Linked DNA regions of Homo sapiens: all the other regions are linked to region 1. Evidence: promoter capture Hi-C in human tissues and cell types (Jung and others, 2019). All regions are on one chromosome and are shown on one strand. The core of a region is centred on a gene start or on the middle of the fragment in contact, and the rest is flanking DNA. Distances in the headings are between cores, read along the strand shown. Region 1 holds the start of RNF4 (ring finger protein 4). Region 2 overlaps GRK4 (G protein-coupled receptor kinase 4). Region 3 holds the start of NOP14 (NOP14 nucleolar protein). Region 4 overlaps NELFA (negative elongation factor complex member A). Region 5 overlaps NOP14 (NOP14 nucleolar protein). Region 6 overlaps LOC124900839. Region 7 overlaps ADD1 (adducin 1).

Region 1 (3,208 bases), core at 289-2,788:
AGCACAGATGTGCATACATTATATAAAAAGAAATAGTTTACGTATGGCATTAAGATTTCATGAAGATTAGAAAAACAATGTTTACAAAAGGTCCTTACAAAGGTAGTAATTCAAGAAAAGATCAATAAACGATGTGTTAAAGTAAGATTTTTGGAAGCTCAAATTCAGGCAATACAAAAGCCAGCAATATATCTTGCTACTCGAATGCCTCTATTTCACCTCAAACTCACAGATAAAACTGAACCCAATATGTCCTTGTCCATTAAAAAGCAAATCACCAAGAAAGTAACAAAAGATTCCCTTCAATGTCTCTTTTATTGACAGTGGTCCCAAAACTCCTGGTCAATGAATTCAAAACCCAAATCTTGCAGGTAGGACTTAACCTCATCTGCTGCCAAATAGCTGGCTATGTGACCTTGGGCAGACCACTTCACTTTTCTGGACCTCAGTCTCCCCAGTCAGTTGGACAGTCTAAGCCAGGCTCCAGAGCTGAGACCCTACGTCTGGCTCAAGAACTTGGTGCAGAAACAGAACGAAGATTATTAAGTTTGTGAACGTCTATGGGAACTGACAAGTGAAAGACAAAAGCTGAAATCCCTACCAAAACGGCTTGCCCAAGCTCTATCCTTTTCCCTCTTCCCTCGATGGATCAAAGGCGGAAAAGCGGTGTTTACTAGCAACTCTGTTTCGGGTCGTGAGAATCTTCATACACCTGTCTATAGGCGCGCCAGAGCGGTGAAGGGCCCGAGCGGTGCAGGGCTGGGCCGCAAGCCTCACAGTCGCACGTTCCACCAACCACCAGCCGGGGCCCGGAAGCGCGCCCGGAAATCGAGGCCCTACTAAGTTTTAGACTGCGACCTCGGCGCCCCCACGGTCAGGCCCGCACCCGTACTCAGATCCTCCCGACCTACAAAAGGCCCCGCCACGCGGCCCACGCACCCCGGCAAACTCGCAGGCCCCACGATGGCGGGGCGGCGGCGCGAACACACAAAGGAGGCGTCGTCAGCGGGGAACAAAAACCCTGCCCGGGTCTTCCCCCTAACAGCACATCCTGCCCGACTTTCCAAGTGACCTTGGGGGCGTTCCTGCCCCTCCCAGAGTCTCAGTTTCCCTTCCTAGGCTAGGAACTAAGCCCCATGGCCGCGGCCCCCCAGGGTGAGCCGAGACCCAGACGCAGACCTCCTAACTTCTGTTGCCCGCGCCAAGCCGGGCTCGGTGCGCCCGCGCGGACGGCAGTGCGAGCGACCAGAGCTGGCTCGAGGTCCCGGGCTGCAAAGCCTCGGCTGGGTCAAGCCGCGCAGCGCGGCTCCCCCAAGAGGCGCGGGCCGAGGCCTCTGTAGGCCGCGAAGCTGCCTAAACCTCGCATCTGCAAGGCCCTGACTTACCGCTGCTTTCCCGCAAAGCTCGGCCTAACCTGGAGCTAGTTAGGTCCGCAGGCGCCACCGCCGGCGCACTCCGGAGAAGAAGCTCCTTCTTCAGCCGCCCAGGAGAGCTCCTCGAGAAAGATGCCGCCGCCTCAACAGCAACCCACTTCCGCTTCGGAGGCCTCGGCTCCGCCCCCCATCATGTCCCCATTGGCCGCCCGCCTACTCTACTTCCGCGGTCGGCCGGGTAAGGACAAATTTTTTAATCCTATTGGATAAGAAAACCATCTGTTACCACTTTAAAACGCGCCTCTTTCCGCCCCCGCCCACAATCGAGCGCACTAACTCGCACCTTCCGGCAAGAGACGGCGCGGGCGCGCCCCGCCCGCAAGGTTTTTCGGGAGTCACGGTCTGAGGGCGACCCGGGCGACCCGGTCGCCCGTGCCCGGCTGCCACTGACCGCTCCAACGCCGCCAGGGACGACCCGCCAGCTGCCTCCGGAGCCGAGCAGGCCCCGAACCTTCCCATTCCTAGATTTCCAGCCGCACAACAGCCGCGGTGCCCCTGGCTCGACGCAGCTGGCCGGAGGCGCGGAGCTGGTCGTTCGTCCCGCCCGCCGTTCCGCGCCCCTCTCCCGGCTCTTGTTTCCTCGCCTCTTAACGAGGCCTTTGTGAGGAAGGTTGCTGGGCCTTGGGACTCTGACGATCGGCTGGAAACCAGGCCTGGCCCTGTTTCAGCATCCCCGCGTGCCAAGCCCTGGGCCGGCGTGCGGGTCCCTGCCCCTGCGAGGAAGCTGGGACTTTTGCAGGCCTGGGTGGAGACGTGTACATAACAGAGGAAGAGTGTGGAGGATTGGAGGACTCAGGGCAGCACGGCAGAGGTGCATGCAGGTCCCCGGTCGGACTGGAGAATGGGCGGTGGGTTTCTTGAGCTCCAGTCCCTGAGCTCGACTTTGACGTGGGTTTAGCAACCAGGAAAAAAGCCCACCTTGTCCCTGCTGCCTGAGAATACCCAGACCTTAGTCCATGGCCAGCATCTCTGGTCCCTCGGCACCCTCAGGCAACGTGAAGGTCACCCCAAATGCCTTGGGTTACATTGTTTCCTTACAGTGAGTTTGTTTGTTTTAGTGGCGCGATCTCGGCTCACTGCAAGCTCTAACCTCCTGGGTTCACGTGATTCTCCTGCCTCAGCCTCCCGAATAGCTGGGATTACAGGCGCCTGCCACCACGCCCGGCTAATTTTCTTTGTATTTTTAGTAGAGATGGAGTTCCATCATGTTGGCCAGGCTGGTCTCGAGCTCCTGACCTCAGGTGATCCACCCTCCTTGGCCTCCAAAAGTGCTGGGATTACTGGTGTGAGCCACCTCGCCCGGCCACCTTACAGTGAGTTTCTAACCTCGAAAATGGAGTCAAATAACGGAATGACAAGGCAGATAGAAACCAGAGCATTAACGTTTTTGTGTTGCATTTACAAACAATATGTGTTTGCTATTTTTCGTAATTGTAAGGAAATCTGGCATGGTAGAGTATCTGATAGATAAATGTAATTCTCATGTAAAATATCTAAGTATTTGTGTTTTTTGTTTGTTTGTTTGTTTGTTTTGAGACGGAGTCTCGCTCTGTCGCCCAGGCTGGAGTGCAGTGGCGCGATCTCGGCTCACTGCAAGCTCCGCATCCCGGGTTCACGCCATTCTCCTGCCTCAGCCTCCCAAGTAGCTGGGACTACAGGCGCCCGCCACCACGCCTGGCTAATTTTTTTTTTTTTGTATTTTTTAGTAGAGACGGGGTTTCACCGTGTTAGCCAGGATGGTCTTGATCTCCTGACCTCGTGATCCACCCGCCTCG
Region 2 (3,208 bases), core at 355-2,854, 510 kb before region 1:
CTTGCAGTACGCTTGGTCTAGCCACAGCCACAGCAGGTAACCAGCGCCTGTGCCTGGAGCTGCCTGCCCTGCCACAGCTGGCATGCCTGGCTGTGCCCAATGGCCAGACCCCACACTCATTTGCTCATGCAACCCTTGCTGCTCTGCACCTGGCTTGCCCTTGGCAGGCATGGGATCTGGACCAGTAGTGAAAGACAAGCACAGCCTGCCAGGCCAAGTGGGTGGAAGGAGCCCAGTGGGCCCAAGCAAAACTCAGGTAAAGCCGCCACTGGCCACAGAAGTCTCCAGCTGGTGAAGTGACACCCTAAGGATCCTGTGACAGTGGCACAGCCGCTCAGCCCCAGTGGGTTTGTGTTCACGGGTATGTGGCACTGACGGTGGGGTAGGGTGGCAACAAGAGGTAGGCTGGATGCATTACCCAGGACTAGCCTGTCAGGCAAGAGGTGAGCTGTTCTGCTCCTCACAGATGGGCCCAAGGAAGACAAGGCTTCCAGTGAGTCCCTGTGCCTCATCTAGGTGCTGTTCTGGGGTATTTGCACATTGAGATCTCAGCATCTAGTAGGCTTGTTGTGGAGATTAAATAGGATAACTTGTATAGAAAGGTACCAGGCCCATGAGTGGGGTTCAGTGTTCCTTCCCTTCCCCTTTAGGGTATGTTTCCTACATCGACAGAAGATTCCCACTGAAGACTGGTTCCCGGGTTCCCATCTTGGATGATGAGGGAAACAAGTCAAGGTGCTAGGCTTTCCTCTTCATCCTGGCTGCTGCCACTCCCAGCCAGCTCCAGGCAGTGAAGGCTCCAGGGAGGCTGGGTGGCCATGGCAGCCCCAGTCATCCTTCCATACTGTGAATCCTGGCTAACAAATTATTTATTGAGAAGACATCTGCTGTCCATGTCCAGTGTGCCAGGCACTGTCCAGGCTCTGGGTACCCTGTGGAGGGTCAGGCAGCTGGTCCTAACAGGATGAAAGCACTCTTGTCAGACCCAAAGAAACTTGGAGCTGGGAAGGCACAAAGAAGGGTTCTTGCTTACATGTCTGAGATAAGAACCATTAGGAGGAGTGTCTAAAATAACCCCACAAGAAATTCTTTCACATCCTTCATGCATTTCATGCTTTTCACAACCTACATTTGGCACATATGCAGGTATTTCTGAGACCAGGTACACTGGACCATTTTTTTTCTTTTTTGAGATAGGGTCTTGCTCTGTCACCCAGGCTAGAATGCAGAATGCAAGTCTCACTGCAGCCTTGACTTCCTGGACTCAAGAGATCCAGCTACCTCAGCCTCCTCAGCAGCTGGGACCACAAGCATGCACCACCACACATGGATTTTTTTTGGGGGGGTAGGGGGACGGAGTTTCACTCTTGTTGCCCAGGCTGGAGTGCAATGGTGTGATCTTGGCTCACCACAACCTCCGCCTACTGGGTTCAAGCAATTCTCCTGGCTCAGCCTCCTGAGTAGCTGGGATTACAGGCATGTGCCACCACGCCCGGCTAATTTTGTATCTTTAGTAGAGACAGGGTTTCTCCATGTTGGTCAGGCTGGTCTCGAACTCCTGACCTCAGGTGATCCGCCCGCCTCGGCCTCCCCAAAGTGCTGGGATTACAGGCGTGAGCCACCGTGCCTGGCCACTCTTTTTTTTTTTTTTTTTTTTTTTGAGACAGAGTCTCCCTCTGTCACTCAGGTTGGAGTGCAGTGGCACCATCTCAGATGATTGCAACCTCCACCTCCTGGGTTCAGGTGATTCTCCCACTTTAGCCTCCAGAATAGCTGGGATTGCAGGCGCCTGCCACCACACCCAGGTAATTTGTGGGGTTTTTTTTTGTTTTTTTTTTTGAGACGGAGTCTCGTTCTGTTGCCCAGGCTGGAGTGCAATGGCGCGATCTCGGCTCACTGCAAGCTCCACCTCCTGGGTTCACACCATTCTCCTGCCTCAGCCTCCCAAGTAGGTGGGACTATAGGCGCCCATCACCATGCCTGGCTAATTTTTTTGTATTTACAGACGGTGTTTCACCACGTTAACCAGGATGGTCTCGATCTCCTGACCTCATGATCCGCCTGCCTTGGCCTCCCAAAGTGCTGGGATCACAGGCGTGAGTCACCGTGCCCAGCCTAATTTGTGTATTTTCAGTAAGAGACGGGGTTTCAGCATGTGGGCCAGGCTGGTCTCGAACTCCTGAACTCAGGAGATCCGCCCACCTCGGCCTCCCAAAGTGCTGGGATTACAGGCATGAGCCACTGTGCCTGGCCACACATGGCTATTTTTTTAAAAAGCTTTTGTAGAGAAGAGATCTTGCCATGTTGCCCAAGCTAGTCTCAGACCCCTGGGCCCAATCGACCCTCCTGCCTCAGCCTCTCAAACAACTGGGATTACAAGCATGAGCCACCTTGCCTGGCCTGGACTTTTTTTAGGACGGCAGCAATTGAGATAAGATGCTCTTGAAAGAACACCTGCCCCCTAGTGGCATCTCCACCACAGAACTGATGCCAACTACGATTTTGAGCCTCTGGAACCAGTGAACTCTGTTTCCAAGCAGCTTATGTGAACCTCTCCCTGTCTGCCAAATAAAAGCTTCCTCTTCCTTTCCCCTTTTCGGGTGCACCTGTGGCTCGCCATGGCTGTGCATCCCAAATTATAATCCTCTTTGCTTACTCCCTAATTCATTCATTAAATTCAGAGATATTTTTCTCTGATATCTTTTTTTAGATTGACAATAGAATCGATTAGCTCAATTACAGAATCCTATCAGACCAAGTTTTTAAAAGATTCTTAAAAACTTAGCATATTATCAATTAGCTTAATGTGTGAAGCCACAGTCTATGAGATAACCAAGAACCTTCTACATAAAGTAATTTTAAAGATGAAAGTTGTTTTCCCTTTTTCTTCCCACTCAATATGGATCTTTAGGATAGATTAATACAGCAACTGACTTTTAGGAATTTCTATAAAACCTAGTTTATTCTCAATTTTAGCTGTAAAAAAGAAGGAAAATATTTTATTGTCAAAAGAGATATAGTCAGGGCACCAAAGGCTCATGTTACAAAAGAAAAAATAGGCAAAATGAACTTCATAAGCCCATGGAATGGGGGAAAACATTTGCACATTATATACCTGATAAGGGATGAGTAATCAGAATATATAGTGAACTCCTAATAGTCACAACAGAGCTGCTGCTGGGAAGTGGCAGCCCAATGAGGGACATTT
Region 3 (3,208 bases), core at 361-2,860, 490 kb before region 1:
CCTTGTAGCTGCGTTGAAAGAAAAAACCAAGAACTGGCTAAACACAGATATTTGTCCTCTTTTTTTTTTTTCTTCACCCCTGCTCTGGAAGGGGGGTGTCTGGAGCCTATTCCTTTGGATTCGACTTCTCAAACAGAACAGCGTTATCTTATAACTGTCCTTAAAGTGAGCTTGCTAAGCAAAAGAAAACTTGTTCTTCTTTTCTTTTTAACCCTTGCCTTGCCACATTCTGGGCCTTGGCTTTTTCTTTTCTTGGAGTGAATGAATGCAGTACTTATTACTATTTTTAAATTTCTGCCTCACTTTAATAATGATAAAAGGCTGAATTTTTGCCAACTTGTCCATCTGTGACCACGTCGTGCTAAAGCACACTTGACACACCATAGAGCCTCAGATCAAACCTCAAAACCAAGCAGCTATGTTAAAAATAACATTGCCCTACAATCATTATCGGAAGGTTCTCGCCCAGAGTAGTTCCCAGGCTGCTATTCTTTGTCCCCCTTAAGACCATAAAGACGCCGTTCTTTTTTGGTGGGACAGGTTGTCCAACACAAGCAGGACACTGCCTGCCGCATCCTGAAGCAACACTGTCACCGAGGTCACACCGAGAGGACAGGACAAGGACACAGGGCAAGACTAAGAAGAGCAAAGCGCAGACTTCTCTCATCTGGGCCAGGAGATGGGGACTGGGACCTGGCCCGGGCAGCCTGACCACACTGCACAGACCCCGGCTCCGGCTCCGTGCAGATCTGGGTTCCCCCAGTGGGAGGTGTCGGGGCTCTCCAGGGAAATCGGGGTTCTCCGGGGATGTCGGGTTCCTTCAGGGGGGCCAGGGTTCCCCGGGATTCGGGGTTCTCTGGGGGGGGGGTCGGGGGCGCCTGCCGCGCACCCACCTTGACGCGCTTTCAGCAGCAGCGAGTTGGCCACGATGTTCTCGAGCTCCATGTCCTGGCGCCGCCGCCGCCGGCGGATTCTGCGAGACCGAGGAGACTGAGGAGGCGGAACAGGAGGAGACGCCGCCGCCCCCGTGCATAGCTCGCCGGGCACCACCCTCTCCTCGAGCTCCGGACACGATCCCGGGAGGCTGCTCCGCCGCCACCACTGCCACCAAGGGCGCCGCCGCCGCCGCCTCCGCAGGCCCTCACCAGCAGGGGAGCGGTCGGGGCGAGGGGAGGGGGCAGCCCGACCGCGGCGGGTCCCAGCTGTCACCGCTGCCGCGCTATCGCCCCGGTTCTTCTTGGCCCCATCGCCCTCGCCTCGCGCGCGCAACTCCCTCCTCAGTGCCCTGCCCCCGGGCAGCCCCGAGTCAATGCCGTGGCTCACTTCGGACAGGGGCTCACTGGCAGGGGCGCCCGCCGCGGCCGGCGACCCGCTCCCGGGCGGGCTCGGCGCTAACGGCTTAGCTGAAGAGGGAGCGCCCCTCGCCGCCGCGGCCGGGGCACTACAGCTCCCAGAAGGCCCTGCGCCAAGAGTACACGGCGGGCCGCGGCGCGTGGCCTGCTGGGAGTTGTAGTCGCTGAGCCTATCGGCGAGTAAGCCGAGCCTGCGGGCGCGGTGTTTACTTCTCGCGAGTCGGAGGTGCTGCGCTGTTCTCGCGAGACGAGGAAGCGGTTCCGCGGCCCGGCACGTGTCTTAGGGTAGCGCGCGCCTGTCTCTCTTCGGGTCTCGGGCCCTTGGGCGCAGCGGGGCGCGCGCCATGGCGAAGGCGAAGAAGGTCGGGGCGCGAAGGAAGGCCTCCGGGGCGCCGGCGGGAGCGCGAGGGGGCCCGGCGAAGGCCAACTCCAATCCGTTCGAGGTGAAAGTTAACAGGCAGAAGTTCCAGATCCTGGGCCGGAAGACGCGCCACGACGTGGGACTGCCCGGGGTGTCTCGCGCACGGGCCCTCAGGAAGGTAAGCGGGGGGCGCACGGGGAGCCGGAAGGCAGGATCTGGACCCCACGCTGCTCTCGGCCGGCTGCGTCCTTCTCGGTGCGTCGGTTTCCTCGTTGAGCGGCACAGGCCGTGACAGGCACACGGCACTGACTTGATAGTCCGAAAGCCTCTGCTGTTCTCTGAGCTGGAGTGACCTGGAAACTCTCGCCGTCTTGGAGACCCTGCACTCGTGTTATTTCGGCGACTCCTCCAACCGGGTCAGGCCGAGTCAGTCACTTCGGGCGGCGCCCTGGACCAAGCTGCTTGTTAACCCTTCCGCGTTTACTTTGAGCTCTGCAGGTTTGGGGACGGTGGATAGGGGCTGTGTAGGATGCTGCGTTTGATGTTTCATCGGCTCTCTCCCGAAGCGCGTAACCTTGTTCCTTGGGAAGTAACTCTATGGAAACTCATTGCTTCCTAGTTTTTTTAACTTTTTTTTTTTTAAATTTTCACTGAGGAACATACATTAGCAGGTTGGTGAAAAAATTAAGGCACAGAAAGGACAAGTGCATTTCCTAAGGTCACGCACCTGGTAAGGGCTGGGCATGCATTCACATTTCAATATCTACAAAGCCTTCTTGCTACCCCGAGCGCTTCTGTTTGACCTCGCTTCTAGGTTCGGGGAGATAAAGGTAAATAAGACTTGCCCTTGCCTTCATGAGCTCCTGATCTCTGTTCATCACAGTGTGCAAGCTGGATGGTCTTTGAATCAAAACACATATTATCCTTACTGCGCGAAGACGACAGCCTGTATAATGAATAGGCAAGATAGACTTACAGCTGACTTCGATAGGAGTCCCTCATTACACACCCCCGGGCCGGGGTGGGAGAATAAGGTAGTGTGGTTCCCTAGAAGAGACACATTTGTCTTCACCACTGAAGCCTCAGTTTTCTCATTTCAAAAGTAGAGATGATAGTATACATCCTACCCCTCGTGGTGGTTTGTGAGAATTAAGTAAGATAGCACATAGAGCACACAGCAAGTGTTCTCTAAATACTGTTATTCTTAACCTTCTTGGCTTGTCGTTCGAGTCCCGCACAGTCTGGCTGTTGTCCTTGCTTCGCCTCTTGCAACTCAGTTTGTCCAAAAGGTCTGCCTTACCTCCGAAAGTCTCTAAAGGGCCAGCTCAGGTTCACCACCCAAGCTATGTAACCCAAATAGGACAGGTTGCTCAAACTTCTGGTATTGAGCAGATCCACCTCCCTGCCCTGTGCTGAAGGCCTGGGACGGGGACGGGAATTGCTGCTCCTTTTTGGATCTCCAATGCTTGGCCCTTGGAAGAAACACAAATATTTG
Region 4 (3,208 bases), core at 429-2,928, 470 kb after region 1:
TTGTAATGTCATTGGTCTCTATATTTTGGTGTGTTTTTTCAGTGGCTCGTACTGGTTTTTCTTTCCATATTTAGTGCTTCTTTCCAGAGTTCTTCCGGGGCGGGGCTGGTGGTAACAAAATCCCTCAGCATTTGCTTGTCTGAAAAAGATTTTATTTCTCCTTCACTTATGAAGCTTAGTTTGGCTGGATATTAAATTCTGGGTTGAAAATTCTTTTCTTTAAGAATGTTGAATATTGGCCCCCAAACTCTTCTGGCTTGTAGAGTTTCTGCAGAGGTCTGCCATTAGTTAGTCTGATGGGCTTCCCTTTGTAGGTGACCTGGCCTTTCTCTCTGGCTGCTCTGAACAGTTTTTCCTTCATTTCGACCTTGGAGAATTTGATGATTATGTGTCTTGGGGTTGATCTTCTCATGGAGTGTCTTAGTGGGGTTCTCTGTATTTCCCAAATTTGCATGTTGGCCTGTCTCTAGGTTGAGGAAGTTCTGGATAATATCCTTAAGTGTGTTTTCCAGCTTGTTTCCATTCTCCCCGTCTCCTTCTGGTACTCCAGTCAGTAGTAGGTTTGGTCTTTTTATGAAATCCCGTGTTTTTTGGAGGCTTTGTTCGTTCCTTTTCATTCTTTTCTCTCTATTGTTGTCTGCATGTCTTATTTCAGTAAGGTGGTGTTCAAACTCTGATATCCTTTGTTCCGCTTTGTGGATTCGGCTGTTAATACTTGCGGATGACTCATGAGGTTCTGGTGCTGTGTTTTTCAGCTTCATCAGGTCATTTATGTTCCTCTCTAAACCGGTTATTCTAGTTAGCAATTCCTCTGACCTTTTATCAAGGTTCTTAGCTTCTTTGCATTGGGATAGAACATGCTCCTTTAGTTCATCATTGTTTTTTTTTTTATTACCCATCTTCTGAAGCCTACTTCTGTCAGCTCGTCCATCCAATCCTCCGTCTAGTTCTGCGCCCTTTTTGGAGAGACATTGTGATCATTTGGAGGAGAAGAGGCACTCTGGCCTTTGGGGTTTTCAGCATTTTTTCGTTGATTCTTTCTCATCTTCGTGAGTTTGTCTAGTTTCAGTCTTTGAGGCTGCTGACCCTTGGATGGGGGCTTTTGTTGTGGTTGTTGTTGTTGTTGTTGATGCTGTTGTCGTTTTCTGCTCGTTTGTTTTCCTTGCCGTAGTCATGTCCCTCTTCTGTAGGGCTGCTGCAGTTTGCTGGGGGTTCACTTCAGGCCATATTCATCTGATTCACTCCCATGCCTGGAGGTGTCACTAAAGGAGGCTGCAGAACAGCAAAGATGGGTGCCTGCTCCTTCTTCTGGGACCTCTGATCTCGAGGGGCACCAACCTGATGCCAGTAGGGTCACTGCTGTATAGGGTGTCTGACAACCCCTGTTGGAGGGTCTCACCTAGTTGGGTGACATAGGGAGCAGGACCCATTTAATGAAGCACTTTGTCCCATGATGGAGGGAGTGTGCTTCAGTGGGGGGAAACCACTTGTCTGGGCTGCCCAGGTTATTCTATATTTAACATTTTGAGAAATTGCCAAACTATTTTCCATAGTGGCTACACCATCTTACTTTCTCCATAGTGATTTTCGAGTGTTCAGTCTCTCACATCCTTGCCAACATTTGTTATCTTTTTGATATAGCGATCCTAGTGGGTGTGAGCACAAAGGAACTTTAAATTTTATCAAATGCTTAAATATCTATTGACATGTAATTCACCACATTAACAAAATAGCTTTAATTATAAACCAACCTTGCATTCCTGCGGTAAACCTAAATTGGTCATTTTATGTTGTTAGATTATATCATCCTGATGTTTTGTATAGGAATTTTGTACTATATCTTTGTTCTTGGGTGAGATTGACCTGTAGTTTTACTTACCCAGACTGTCTTTGTTGGATTTTGGTATTGGGGTTATGCTACCCTTAAAAAAGGATTTGTAATGTATCTGGTCTTTTCTTTTTCTTTGGAAAGTTTGTTTACTAATGGAGTGATTTCTTCCTAAATATTTGGTAGAACTTGGTAATGAAGCCTTCTGGACCTGAAATTTACTTTGTGGGAGGATTTTTCAGTATTGATTTTTGTTTTTATGGGTTTTGTTTTTTTTGTTTGTTTTAATGCATAGTGTCACTGTCACTCAGGCTGGAGTGGCAGTGATGTGATCATAACTCACTGTAACCTTAAACTCCTAAGCTCAAGTGATCTCCTGCCTCACCTTCCTGAGCAGCTAAGACTGCAGGCATGCACCACCATACCTGCCTACTTTTCTTTTTTTTTAAATTTTTTGTAGAGAGAGTGTCTCAAATACCCTTCTGTCATCGAGGCTGGAGTGCAATGGTGCAATCTTGGCTCACTGCAACCTCCACCTTCCAGACTCAAGTGATTATCGTGCCTCAGCCTTCTGAGTAGCTGGGATCACAGGCGTGTGCCACCATTCCCGGCTAATTTTTGTATTTTTAGTAGAGACAGGTTTTTGCCACGTTGGCCAGTCTGGTCTCAAGCTCCTGACCTCAAGTGATCCACATGCCTTGGTTGACCAAATTGCTGGGATTACAGGCATGAGCCAATATGACCAGCTCAAACATCTTCTTTTTAAATGTCAGAAGCATGTATAGTGATTATTTCTTATTTTTTCCCCCTTGATCCATCTCACCAGATGTTTGTTGATTTTATAAGAATTTTCAAACTACCAGCTTCTGGCTTTGTTGAACTTGGATTTCTGTTTCACTAATTTTCTTTCTCCTGTCTTTGTACTTACTTTGTTGCTCTTTTTCTAAGTTTTAAAGATGGATGCCAATCTCAGGCTTCTTTTCGTGTGTGTATGTGCGTATGTCCATAAATTCTCTTCTAATTACAGTGTAAGCCGCATCCCACAAGTTTTGATAGTCACAGAACTGTATCGTCACACTATTTTTTAATTTCAGTAAGTTCTTCACTGATCCCTGTGTAATTTAGAAATGTTTCATAATTTCCCTACATTGGAGGGGAAGATAGTTTTGTTTTTATTATTAATTTCTAGCTGTATTGAGCTCTTGTCAGAGAATATGGTTTATTTTAGTCGTTTGAAATTTAAGATCTGCTTAATGGCAAAATGTATGGTCAGTTTTTGTAAATGTTGCCAGTAAGCTTGCGAATCATATGTACTCTAGTTTTGAAATCCATTGCTCAGTGGATGTTCATTAGGCCAATTTGTATAATCATGTTGTACAA
Region 5 (3,208 bases), core at 298-2,797, 480 kb before region 1:
AGTTACTAAGGTAGGTGGAATGATGGTGTCAGCATGCCAAGTGGGCAGGTGGTCACCCAGGGCTTGTGAGCCTCACAGCGCAAGCCGGCTTCTCACACGTGCCGCTCCAGCCACTGTAGAGCTGGGACTGACTTTTAACCACAAACAAGTTGATTTTGAAACAAGTGAACCCCTTTAGATTTGTGGCTGGGATGGGGTGGCTCATTGTAAGTTTCAAGCTCTGGGTGACTGAGCGGTATTTGGAAAGCACGGTAGACACCCCGCCCCTCACCCTTCAGTGAAACCCAGTTGGGTGGCTTTGCATGCCAGGGAGTGTGTACCTCTTGTCTGCATGGGGACCGCCAGGGCGAGCTCCTGCCCTCGTTGCCCTCTAAGGCTGTGTGACCCACTCAGTGGCTCCTGGCCCCCAGGGCTGGTGGCTGGAAGAATGCCAGAGGGGCAGAGTCCTCAGTTGAGAGGCGTGTGTTGGCTTCGGATCCATGAGAGTGCACACCAGCTTCCTGCCCTGTGCCGCGCGGAGCTCTCCACGTCATCTTCTGCATGCATGGAGGCACTATCAAAGAAGTACCTGTCGTGAGGAATAAATGAGTTAATATGGAAAGTGCCTTGGAGCTGTCAGCTGCAGCTGCCACACAGAGTGGTGCCCCCAACAACGTCTGTACCACAAATCGAGCTGTTTCTCCCACCACCTCCAGTCCATAATGTTATGGCCGAGTTTTTAGGAAATGGCAGAAGTGAGTGTAGACTCTTAAGAATGCTGTTAGAAAAAGCGGATTCATCCAGTTCTTACTTGCTCAGTCAACAGGTGACTGCATAGGAAAGTGGCTTGCAGGGCTTTTCTGTGTTTCTTATCTAAAGTCATTCTCTCCTGACTTTACATTTCTGCTTAACAGGCACTTATATCATCTTTGCCAGATGTTTCCTGAATCTGCAAGTGACGCTATCAAATTTGTTCTCCGAGATGCGATGCATGAGATGGAAGAAATGATTGAGACCAAAGGCCGGGCGGCATTGCCAGGGTTGGATGTGGTAAGCAGAGTTCAGTCTAGGCACTGCCCCTGCCACAGAAGTTCTGTTTGGCATCACAGAAGGTGGACGACGGGTACGATGCTCTTGGCTGTACCCTGTGCTTCCAGGGTGATGTGGAGTGAGCTGCACGGCAGCGAGGGTGATCTGGAGTGAGAGTGCACGGCAGTGAGGGTGATCTGGAGTGAGAGTGCACGGCAGTGAGGGTGATCTGGAGAGTGCACGGCAGTGAGGGTGATCTGGAGAGTGCACGGCAGTGAGGGTGATCTGGAGTGAGTGCACGGCAGCGAGGGTGATCTGGAGTGAGAGTGCACGGCAGTGAGGGTGATCTGGAGTGAGAGTGCACGGCAGTGAGGGTGATCTGGAGTGAGAGTGCACGGCAGTGAGGGTGATCTGGAGTGAGAGTGCACGGCAGTGAGGGTGATCTGGAGTGAGAGTGCACGGCAGTGAGGGTGATCTGGAGTGAGAGTGCACGGCAGTGAGGGTGATCTGGAGTGAGAGTGCACGGCAGCGAGCCTGGGAGGGGAGGGCACTCCTCCACTAGCCATGGACTAACGTGTGGGTCGTGCAGGGAGATTCTGGTTTGATTCCACGTGAATGGTGCTGTATTTGGTCCAGTGACAAAAACATTGGAAGGCAAATAGAACCACGGTATTGTCCTTAAGGGCCCAAGCCTGTGGGCTGGTTTAAATTGGTCTCGGTTTCTATGTTATTCAAAGGTTGGGAGACATTTGTACGCTGAGATTTTTAACAATTTTATAACAGCCTCATGCTGTATTTTCAGCTTTAGTAACTTTAAGGAAATACTTGCTGAGATACGCTCTTTATTCTGTTGCCTGGTGTTTGTGTTGAAATGGATTCACAATAGTTAGCAGAAGCTTAAAAATGTAGGACTTAGGTTAGTGATTTTTAATCAACTCCCCAAAACATGATCTGAGCCCGTGTCTATAACCATTGTTGACTGCTTTGAAGTCTTCATGGGCCTCAGTGTCCTCACTGCACGTTTAGCTGGTTGACCCACGGTGGTTGGACGCCTGTTCTGTGACACTGAGGCCAGAGCTCTGGGCCAAGGAGATGCACCCTCTCCTCGCCAGATCCTGTTCTTGGCTCCGGAGTGTTTGCGGGGAGGGCATATGGATGGACTTCATTTACCTTCTTTAACCTGTGGTAACACTTTCTTTCCAGCTCATTTATTTGAAAATCACTGGGCTGCTATTTCCAACTTCCGACTTCTGGCACCCAGTGGTGACCCCTGCCCTCGTGTGCCTCAGTCAGCTGCTCACCAAGGTGCGTTCTCTCCACATGCGGCAGGGGTCGGCCTGCTGCACCACGGGTGGCCGGAGCCACAGCCCCTCGGGGCCTTGTGGAACATGAGTGTGGCTGTTTAAGGGCTGCAGAGACCGAGCACTGCGGTTAGGCCAAAGAGGGCCCATCTAAAAGAGCCCCGGCTCGAGCAGCCCCAGATGTGGGTGGGAGTGGGAGGGCCTGGTTTGGCACCTCAAGGTTACAGATGGTGCTACCCCAGAAAACAACCTTTCAAGTTAGTGGTGAAGTTATCCAGTGTGATGATAAGGGCTTTTGTTCCCTTTTTGGCTTAAAAAGTTCAAGCTGTTCCTTTTTCTTTATTAGGCATGTGATTGGTACATGCTTAGTGCAGTAATCGTACGCTCTGTATGGGTGGAAGGAACTTTATAATCAGTATAGCTCTGGCCAGGCGCGGTGGCTCACGCCTGTAATCCCAGCACTTTCGGAGGCTGAGGCGGGCGGATCACCTGAGGTCGGGAGTTCAAGACCAGTGTGGCCAACATGGCGAAACCCCGTCTCTACTAAAAATACAAAAATTAGCTGGGTGTGGTGCCACATGCCTGTAATCCCAGCTACTCGGGAGACTGAGGCAGGAAAATCACTTGAACCCGGGAGGTGGAGGTTGCAGTGAGCCGAGATTGTGCCATTGCACTCCAGCCTGGGTGGTAAGAGTGAAACTCCGTCTCGGGAAAAAAAAATCACTAAAGCTCTTTATCTTGTTTTCATCTCATTTGATGCTCTCGACACTGCTATAAGGTGCGGGGGTTCCCTCTGTACTTGTGAAGCTCAGTGGGGTGCGTGGTTCATCAGGGAAGCCCGGTGGTCGGCCTAGCATGGCATGACATCGTCCCAGGACAGTAACCCCCCATATGTTCCT
Region 6 (3,208 bases), core at 332-2,831, 450 kb after region 1:
CCTGAGGGCAGGACCCCAGCCACCACACACCCTGGCAAGAGCTCGCAACCTGGGGTTGCAAACCCTCCACTGAAGGCAGTGCTGACCTGAGGGTCTCCCTAGGAGGACAGGCGTGAGCAGAGAATCTGTCTGAAGACAAGGCAAAACTGAAGGTGCAGATGAGGACTTAGTTTGTTAGATAAGAACAGTGGATTCACGAGATCTGAACTCACTGGCCCTTGGTGCCCTTGAGACAGGGACATTCAGACCTGTGTTAGTTCATCCTCTTCCCAAGGAGCTCTTCACAACAGAAGGTGACAAGGACAGACGGACACACAGAATTGTTGTTAGGAGCAAAGTAGTTTCCACAAGGATCAAAATCTTCATCTCATCAGATAATCAAAGCACACGTAAGAAGGCTTTCTCAATCCTGGAACACAAGGAGCTTTCACAAAAGAAAACCAGAGGGTCACGGGGAGAGTGCTGGTTCCAGTCGCAGGTCTCAGGCCATCCTGGGGAGGCCGTCTCAGCCGAATCCCATGGGAACATTTAGGACCATTCACTGCCAACAACTCAACAGTGACTCCCAGAAAACTTGTTTATTTTTAGAGACAGGGTCTTGCTCTGTTGCCCGGGCTAGATTGCAGTGGTGCAACCACAGCTCACTGCAGCCTCAACCTCCTGGGCTCAAGCAATCCTCCCCCATCAACCTCCCAAGTAGCTGGGACTACAGGTGTGCTCCACCACACCCGGCTAATTTTTTAGTGTTTTGTAGAGACAGAGTCTTGCTGTGTTGCCAAGGCTGGTCTCTAACTCCTGGGCTCACGCAATCCTCCCACCTCAGCCTCCCAAAGTGCGCCTGGCCTCATAGGATTTTAGAATCTGGGCTCAGATGGTTGATGGTCTGTCTTTCAGTGCAAGGACTCATTGGGATAGGACAGAGCTTATGGCCCAACAGTGCAGGACAGAGAAACACAGCCAGATGAAGGTTCTGATGAGTGAGCTGGTTCCCAGATTGGTAAACTATGTGCCAGGATACATTGTTCTGCAAGATTTTCCTGAAGCAAACAGTGATTGACTGATTTAGTTTTATCTTCCTGGAAAGAATTTTCTGGAAATAATCATTAAATCAGGTTGACACAGGTGATCTCAGCTCTTGATCCCAAGAGTTAAGTGGACACAGGTGGTCTCAATTCTCATCCCGTCCTCAATATTCTGCCAAGGCCCCTCTGTCTTTTCCATCTCTTTTTTTTTTTCATTTTCTTTCTTTCTTTTTTTTTTTTTTTTTTTGAGACGGAGTCTCACGCTTGGTGCCCAGGCTGGAGTGCAATGGCACGATCTCAGCTCACGGCAACCTCCACCTCCCAGGTTCAAGCGATTCTCCTGCCTCAGCCTCCTGTGTAGCTGGGATTACAGGCATGAGCCACCACGCCCAGTTAATTTTTGTATTTTTAGTAGAGACAGGGTTTCACCATGTTGGCCAGGATGGTCTTGATCTCTTGACCTCATGATCCACCTGCCTCGGCCTCCCAAAGTGCTGGGATTACAGGCATGAGCCACTGTGCCCAGCCTTCCACCTCATTTTCTCTGTCATCATTTTTTTCTCCAGCTTCCAGGAGCCGTCGTAGCAGCCGATTAGGACTGGCTGCTGGTGTGGTGATGACCTAGAGGGCTTCTCCCAGGTAAGGTGAGAAGAGGGATCCACTCACTGCAAGAGGCTGCATAAACTTAACCCAACACTGTAAAGGCTCTCCTCATGAACAAAGCATTAGTAGTCTAGATAAAATACTAACAAGCGAAATCTAGCAACGTGTAAAAAAGAATAACATAGTCCAAGTTGGGCTTATTCTAGGAAAGTAAGGTTTATGTAATTTGAAAGGCAATCAATGTAATTCATCACATTTACAAAATAAAGGTGAAAAAATCATACAATCATCTCAGTATGCACAACAAAACATTTTATAAGAACATTTGATAAAATTAAATGTTGGTCATGATTTTTAAAAACCTGTAGCAAATTAGGAATAGAAGGGAACTTCTTTAATTTGATCTAGGGCACCTTAAAAAATAAGCAAACATGGCCGGGCATGGTGGCTCACACCTGTAATCCCAGCACTTTGGGAGGCTGAGGCGGGCGGATCACGAGGTGAGGAGATCGAGACCATGCTGGCTAACACGGTGAAACCCCATCTCTAATAAAAATACAAAAAATTAGCCGGGCGTGGTGGCGGGCGACTTGTAGTCCCAGATACTCAGGAGGCTGAGGCAGGAGAACGGCCAGAACCCGGGAGGCGGAGCTTGCAGTGAGCCAAGATCACACTACTGCACTCCAGCCTGGGCGACAGAGTGAGAATCCGTCTCAAAAAAATAAGAATAAAAATAAGCAAACATATCACTTAATGGACTCATGTAACAGTGAAAAGTATGGCGGGATAGCTAACAGGCCAACCCTCCCACTGATTAAAGGCTTTGGAGCATAAACCAAAGCAAGCGGATTTTGGAGGGAAGTAAAAACTTGGAGGAAAGGACCAGCCTGGTGAATTTGTTTGTTTGTTTGAGACAAAGTCTTGCTCTGTTGCCCAGGCTGGAGTGCAATGGTGTGATCTCAGCTCACTGCGACCTCTGCCTCCCGGATTCAAGCAATGCTCCTGCCTCAGCCTCCTGAGTAGCTGGGATTACAGGTGCCCACCACTGTGCCCGGCTAATTTTTGTATTTTTAGTAGAGATGGGGTTTTGCCATGTTGGCCAGGCTGGTTTTGAACTCCTGACCTCAGGTGATCCACCTGCCTCGGCCTTCCAAAGTGTTGGGATCACAGGCATGAGCCACCACAGCTGACTGATCCTGGTGAGTTTTAAGGCCATTTTCAAAGCTTAAGCCTGAGGACAGCTAGGGAGCCCCGGCATGGTGCAAGCAGATAACCCTAACAGAAAACTGACTGTCTTTCTGGATTTACAAACCAGAAAACAGAGCCTGGACCCACACAATTTCCAGGAAGTCAGGAGGGAGTCCTAAAACGGAAAGAGCCAGAGAAGTCTCTGATAGATCATGCAGGCAAAGGTAGCCTCTAGCAGCTTGCAGGCAGGGCCGCACTGAGATTTGAAAGGCCTCTAAACCTACTCTACAGAAAGCCCAGAGGCAGACACAAAGTCAACAGGGGAGAGGTCACTCCTGCCTTTACACAGCTGCTGAGAATAGATGAAAAGTCTTGCCAACTTATTTAAAAGGCTA
Region 7 (3,208 bases), core at 273-2,772, 450 kb before region 1:
CCTAGCTGAGTGAGCATACAGCCTCAACCGGGAAAAGGTGCTGACCTCTGGCAGCCAGCCTGCATTTTACCTGTGGCACATTCTCCCCTCAGCCCATGCCAAGGGCCAGATCAGACCTCCTGTGGGTTCTCCTGCTGACAGCTCTGTGATCACAGAGCACGGCCAGAGCCTGTCCCCATCCACTCAGCTGCCATCACAGCCCTGCTGAAGGAGCCTCACACATCGGGGGGAAACTCCACATATCTTGTTTGACTTGTTTTTAAAAACAATCCAGGTTACTCAGATCCCAGGAGACTCCAAAGGGCAGACACATGTCTGTGTACATGTGCACAGAAACTAGGAGGAGGCCACATGACCCACAGCTCAAGCTGACTACCTCCAGTTCTCGCTCTAAGGCAGGTAATTACAGCAATGGCTCAGACAAAGCTTCACTGGAGGGAGACAACCAGCAGCAGGGCCTGGTGTGTGTGGCGGCCTGAATAGTAAATAGCGGTGTGACACTGAAAAACAATTCAGCAACTCAAATTTCAGTCACAACTACGTAATGCAGTGGCTGGTCTAGAACGAGACAAAAACCGGTGAAGAGGTCCTCTTAGGAGGAGTGCCTAGCTCCCAGGATGACGACGGCCCAGGAGAGCAACAGTCAGTCCCACACAACAAGGTGGCTCCAGCAAGGCTGACCCCGGAGGACTGAGAAGCACACTGAGGTTTCAGTAAAAACCTGAGTTGGAGCTTACGGCCCTGAGGATGCTGGCGGGAGCCTCCTGGCAGGGGTCCCTGTGCCCCTGGTTCTTCTTGGTGCCAGCACCAAGGCTGCTCAGAGCCTAGTGGACAAGAGAGCTGGCAGCAGGGAGCTTGGGGGAAAAGCAGCTGATGCCCAAAAGCCCTCAAGGAATAGGCTTTGGAGACCTGCTTCTCTCATTAGTTCTCAACATTTCCTTTTCAAAGCCTGACATTTGAAACCACCTGCTCCGTGAGGGTCTCAAACTTGAGCCGCTTATTTGTATTCATTTTAAGACTGCCCCATCTTTGACAAAAACAAGACCGCCTTTGTCAGCGGGCTACCAAGAGAAGTACAGGCTGCACCAGCCATTCCTGATGGGACCTGGGCACATGCCAGGGCAGTCAGCATTTTCACCCTCCGGCCTGTGACCACACCTGCACAGGAAACCCTCAAGGTTTATGGAGAAAGAGAATTTCTGTCAGAAACCCCAAGCCCTACACACAAGCACAGTAAGGACGTTCAGAGCGTCCCCCTGCACAGAGGCCGGGGCTGACTGCTGTGACCAAAGACTCAGTGAGGAAGGCAGTGCGCTTCTGTCCAAATCAGGGCTCGGCCACGCACAACCTCGTTCTCGCGAGCCGCCCTGTCTGAGCTCCCTATTCCTCTGCTCCAGCCGGGGGAAAATGACCTATCTCTCAGGGTTACTTTGAGAATGAGATGAGATGTACGCACAATAGCACTGGGCATGTGCCCGGCACAATGACTGCTCAGCAATGCTGAGTGTTAATGAATCAAACTGAGTAAAGGAGGTCTCTCCCCGGTGAAGCTTCAACAGACAGAAATACTGTGTTCGTAAAGAGACAAATGTCAGGGTGACAGGCAACATGGCCGAATAGGAACAGCTCCGATCTGCAGCTCCCAGTGAGATCAACGCAGAAGGTGGATGATTTCTGCATTTCCAACTGAGGTACCTGGCTCATCTCCCTGGGACTGGTTAGACAGTGGGTGCAGCCCACGGAGGGCGAGCCAAAGCAGGGTGGGGTGTTGCCTCACCCAGGAAGTGCAAGGAGTCGGGGAACTCCCTCATCTAGCCAAGGGAAGCCATGAGGGACTGTGGCTTGAGAAACAGTGCATTCCAGCTCAAATACTACGCTTTTCCCACGGTCTTCGCAATCCACAGACCAGGAAATTCCCTTGGCTGCCCATGACACCAGGACCCTGGGTTTCAAGCACAAAACTGGGCAGCCGTTTCGGCAGACACTGAGCTAGCTGCAGGAGTTTTTTCTGATACCCCAGTGGCGCCTGGAATGCCAGCAAGACAGAACCCTTCACACCCCTGGAAAGGGGGCTGAAGCCAGGGAGCCAAGTGGTCTTGCTCAGCAGATCCCACCCCCATGGAGCCCAGCAAGCTAAGATCCACTGGCTTGAAATTCTTGCTGCCAGCACAGCAGTCTGAAGTCGACCTGGGATGCTGGAGCTTGGTGGGGGGAGGGGCATCCACCATTACTGAGGCTTGAGTAGGCCATTTTCCCCTCACAGTGTAAACAAAGCTGCCAGGAAGTTCACACTGGGCAGAGCCCACCGCAGCTATGCAAAGCCACTGTAGCCAGACTGCCTCTCTAGATTCCTCCTCCCTGGGCGGGGCATCTCTGAAAGAAAGGCAGCAGCCCCAGTCAGGGGCTTATAGATAAAAGTCCCATCTCCCTGGGACAGAGCACCTGGGGGAAGGGTTGGCTGTGGGCACAACTTCAGCAGACTGAAGTTACTACCTGCTGGCTCTGAAGAGAGCGGTGGATCTCCCAGCACAGCACTCAAGCTCTGCTGAGGGACAGACAGCCAACTCAAGTGGGTCCCTGACCCCTGTGCCTCCTGACTGGGAGACACCTCCCGGCAGGGGTCAACAGACACCTCATATAGGAGAGCTCCAGCTGGCATCTGGCAGGTGCCCCTCTGGGACGAAACTTCCAGAGGAAGGAACAGGCAGCGATCTTTGCTGTTCTGCAGCCTCTGCTGGTGATACCCAGGCAAACAGGGCCTGGAGTCGACCTCCAGCAAACTCCAACAGACCTGCAGCAGAGGAGCCTGTCTGTTAGAAGGAAAACTAACAAACAGAAAGGGATAGCATCAACATCAACAAAAAGGACATCCACATGAAAACGCCATCTGAAGGTCACCAACATCAAGGACCAAACGTAGATAAATCCACAAAGACGAGGAAAAACCAGTGCAAAAAGGCTGAAATTTCCAAAAACCAGAATGCCTCTTCTCCTCCAAAGGATCACAACTCCTCACCAGCAAGGGAACAAAACTGGACAGAGAATGAGTTTGATGAACTGACAGAAGTAGACTTCAGAAGGTGGGTAATAACAAACTCCTCTGAGCTAAAGGAGCATGTTCTAACCCAATGCAAGGAGGCTAAGAACCTTGAAAAAAGATTAGAGGAATTGCCAACTAGAATAACCAGTGTAGAGAAGAACATAAATG

The links. The method cuts DNA at HindIII sites, captures the fragments that hold promoters and counts their contacts. A contact is called where the count stands out against the background at its distance.
Region 2: a fragment that was not itself captured here is called in contact with the fragment with the promoter of RNF4 in region 1 in 2 of the 25 tissues and cell types used here (dorsolateral prefrontal cortex and spleen).
Region 3: the fragment with the promoter of NOP14 here is called in contact with the fragment with the promoter of RNF4 in region 1 in 2 of the 25 tissues and cell types used here (H1 embryonic stem cells and lymphoblastoid cells).
Region 4: a fragment that was not itself captured here is called in contact with the fragment with the promoter of RNF4 in region 1 in 2 of the 25 tissues and cell types used here (IMR-90 fibroblasts and dorsolateral prefrontal cortex).
Region 5: a fragment that was not itself captured here is called in contact with the fragment with the promoter of RNF4 in region 1 in 1 of the 25 tissues and cell types used here (dorsolateral prefrontal cortex).
Region 6: a contact is called between a fragment that was not itself captured here and the fragment with the promoter of RNF4 in region 1, in 1 of the 25 tissues and cell types used here (dorsolateral prefrontal cortex).
Region 7: a contact is called between a fragment that was not itself captured here and the fragment with the promoter of RNF4 in region 1, in 1 of the 25 tissues and cell types used here (dorsolateral prefrontal cortex).

Annotation. Positions count from the first base shown.
Region 1 is chr4:2,467,436-2,470,643 of GRCh38, reverse strand. It overlaps RNF4 (ring finger protein 4), which reads right to left and starts at 1,538. Exons shown (of 8, transcript NM_002938.5): 1 at 1,386-1,538. LOC107986250 (a long non-coding RNA gene) reads left to right here and starts at 1,693. Exons shown (of 2, transcript XR_001741551.3): 1 at 1,693-2,244. RefSeq lists enhancers at 896-1,015, 1,060-1,632, 1,316-1,675 and a silencer at 1,826-1,995. The HindIII fragment of the contact is 20,287 bases long and covers 1-3,208 here.
Region 2 is chr4:2,977,856-2,981,063 of GRCh38, reverse strand. All of the region lies in intron 1 of GRK4 (G protein-coupled receptor kinase 4), which reads right to left. Among named protein-coding and RNA genes, the nearest start is that of GRK4, 16 kb to the right of the region's middle. The HindIII fragment of the contact is 3,818 bases long and covers 1-3,208 here.
Region 3 is chr4:2,961,808-2,965,015 of GRCh38, reverse strand. It overlaps NOP14 (NOP14 nucleolar protein), which reads left to right and starts at 1,610. Exons shown (of 18, transcript NM_001291978.2): 1 at 1,610-1,891. The coding sequence starts at 1,697. GRK4 (G protein-coupled receptor kinase 4) reads right to left here and starts at 1,445. Exons shown (of 16, transcript NM_182982.3): 1 at 894-1,445. The coding sequence starts at 945. RefSeq lists silencers at 773-822, 993-1,422 and enhancers at 885-1,418, 1,419-1,952, 2,983-3,052. The HindIII fragment of the contact is 12,457 bases long and covers 1-3,208 here.
Region 4 is chr4:1,996,018-1,999,225 of GRCh38, reverse strand. The region is part of intron 1 of NELFA (negative elongation factor complex member A); the gene reads left to right. Among named protein-coding and RNA genes, the nearest start is that of MIR943, 11 kb to the right of the region's middle. RefSeq lists an enhancer at 707-1,206. The HindIII fragment of the contact is 4,892 bases long and covers 1-3,208 here.
Region 5 is chr4:2,944,233-2,947,440 of GRCh38, reverse strand. It overlaps NOP14 (NOP14 nucleolar protein), which reads left to right. Exons shown (of 18, transcript NM_001291978.2): 11 at 894-1,029; 12 at 2,212-2,313. NOP14-AS1 (NOP14 antisense RNA 1) reads right to left here. Exons shown (of 4, transcript NR_015453.2): 3 at 321-568. Among named protein-coding and RNA genes, the nearest start is that of NOP14-AS1, 10 kb to the right of the region's middle. RefSeq lists an enhancer at 1-806. The HindIII fragment of the contact is 9,701 bases long and covers 1-3,208 here.
Region 6 is chr4:2,016,123-2,019,330 of GRCh38, reverse strand. LOC124900839 reads left to right here. Exons shown (of 4, transcript XM_047416543.1): 3 at 1,589-1,661. Among named protein-coding and RNA genes, the nearest start is that of NELFA, 8.8 kb to the right of the region's middle. The HindIII fragment of the contact is 5,535 bases long and covers 1-3,208 here.
Region 7 is chr4:2,921,989-2,925,196 of GRCh38, reverse strand. All of the region lies in intron 14 of ADD1 (adducin 1), which reads right to left. Among named protein-coding and RNA genes, the nearest start is that of SLC75A1, 11 kb to the left of the region's middle. RefSeq lists enhancers at 464-1,359, 1,360-2,255, 2,256-3,153. The HindIII fragment of the contact is 7,050 bases long and covers 1-3,208 here.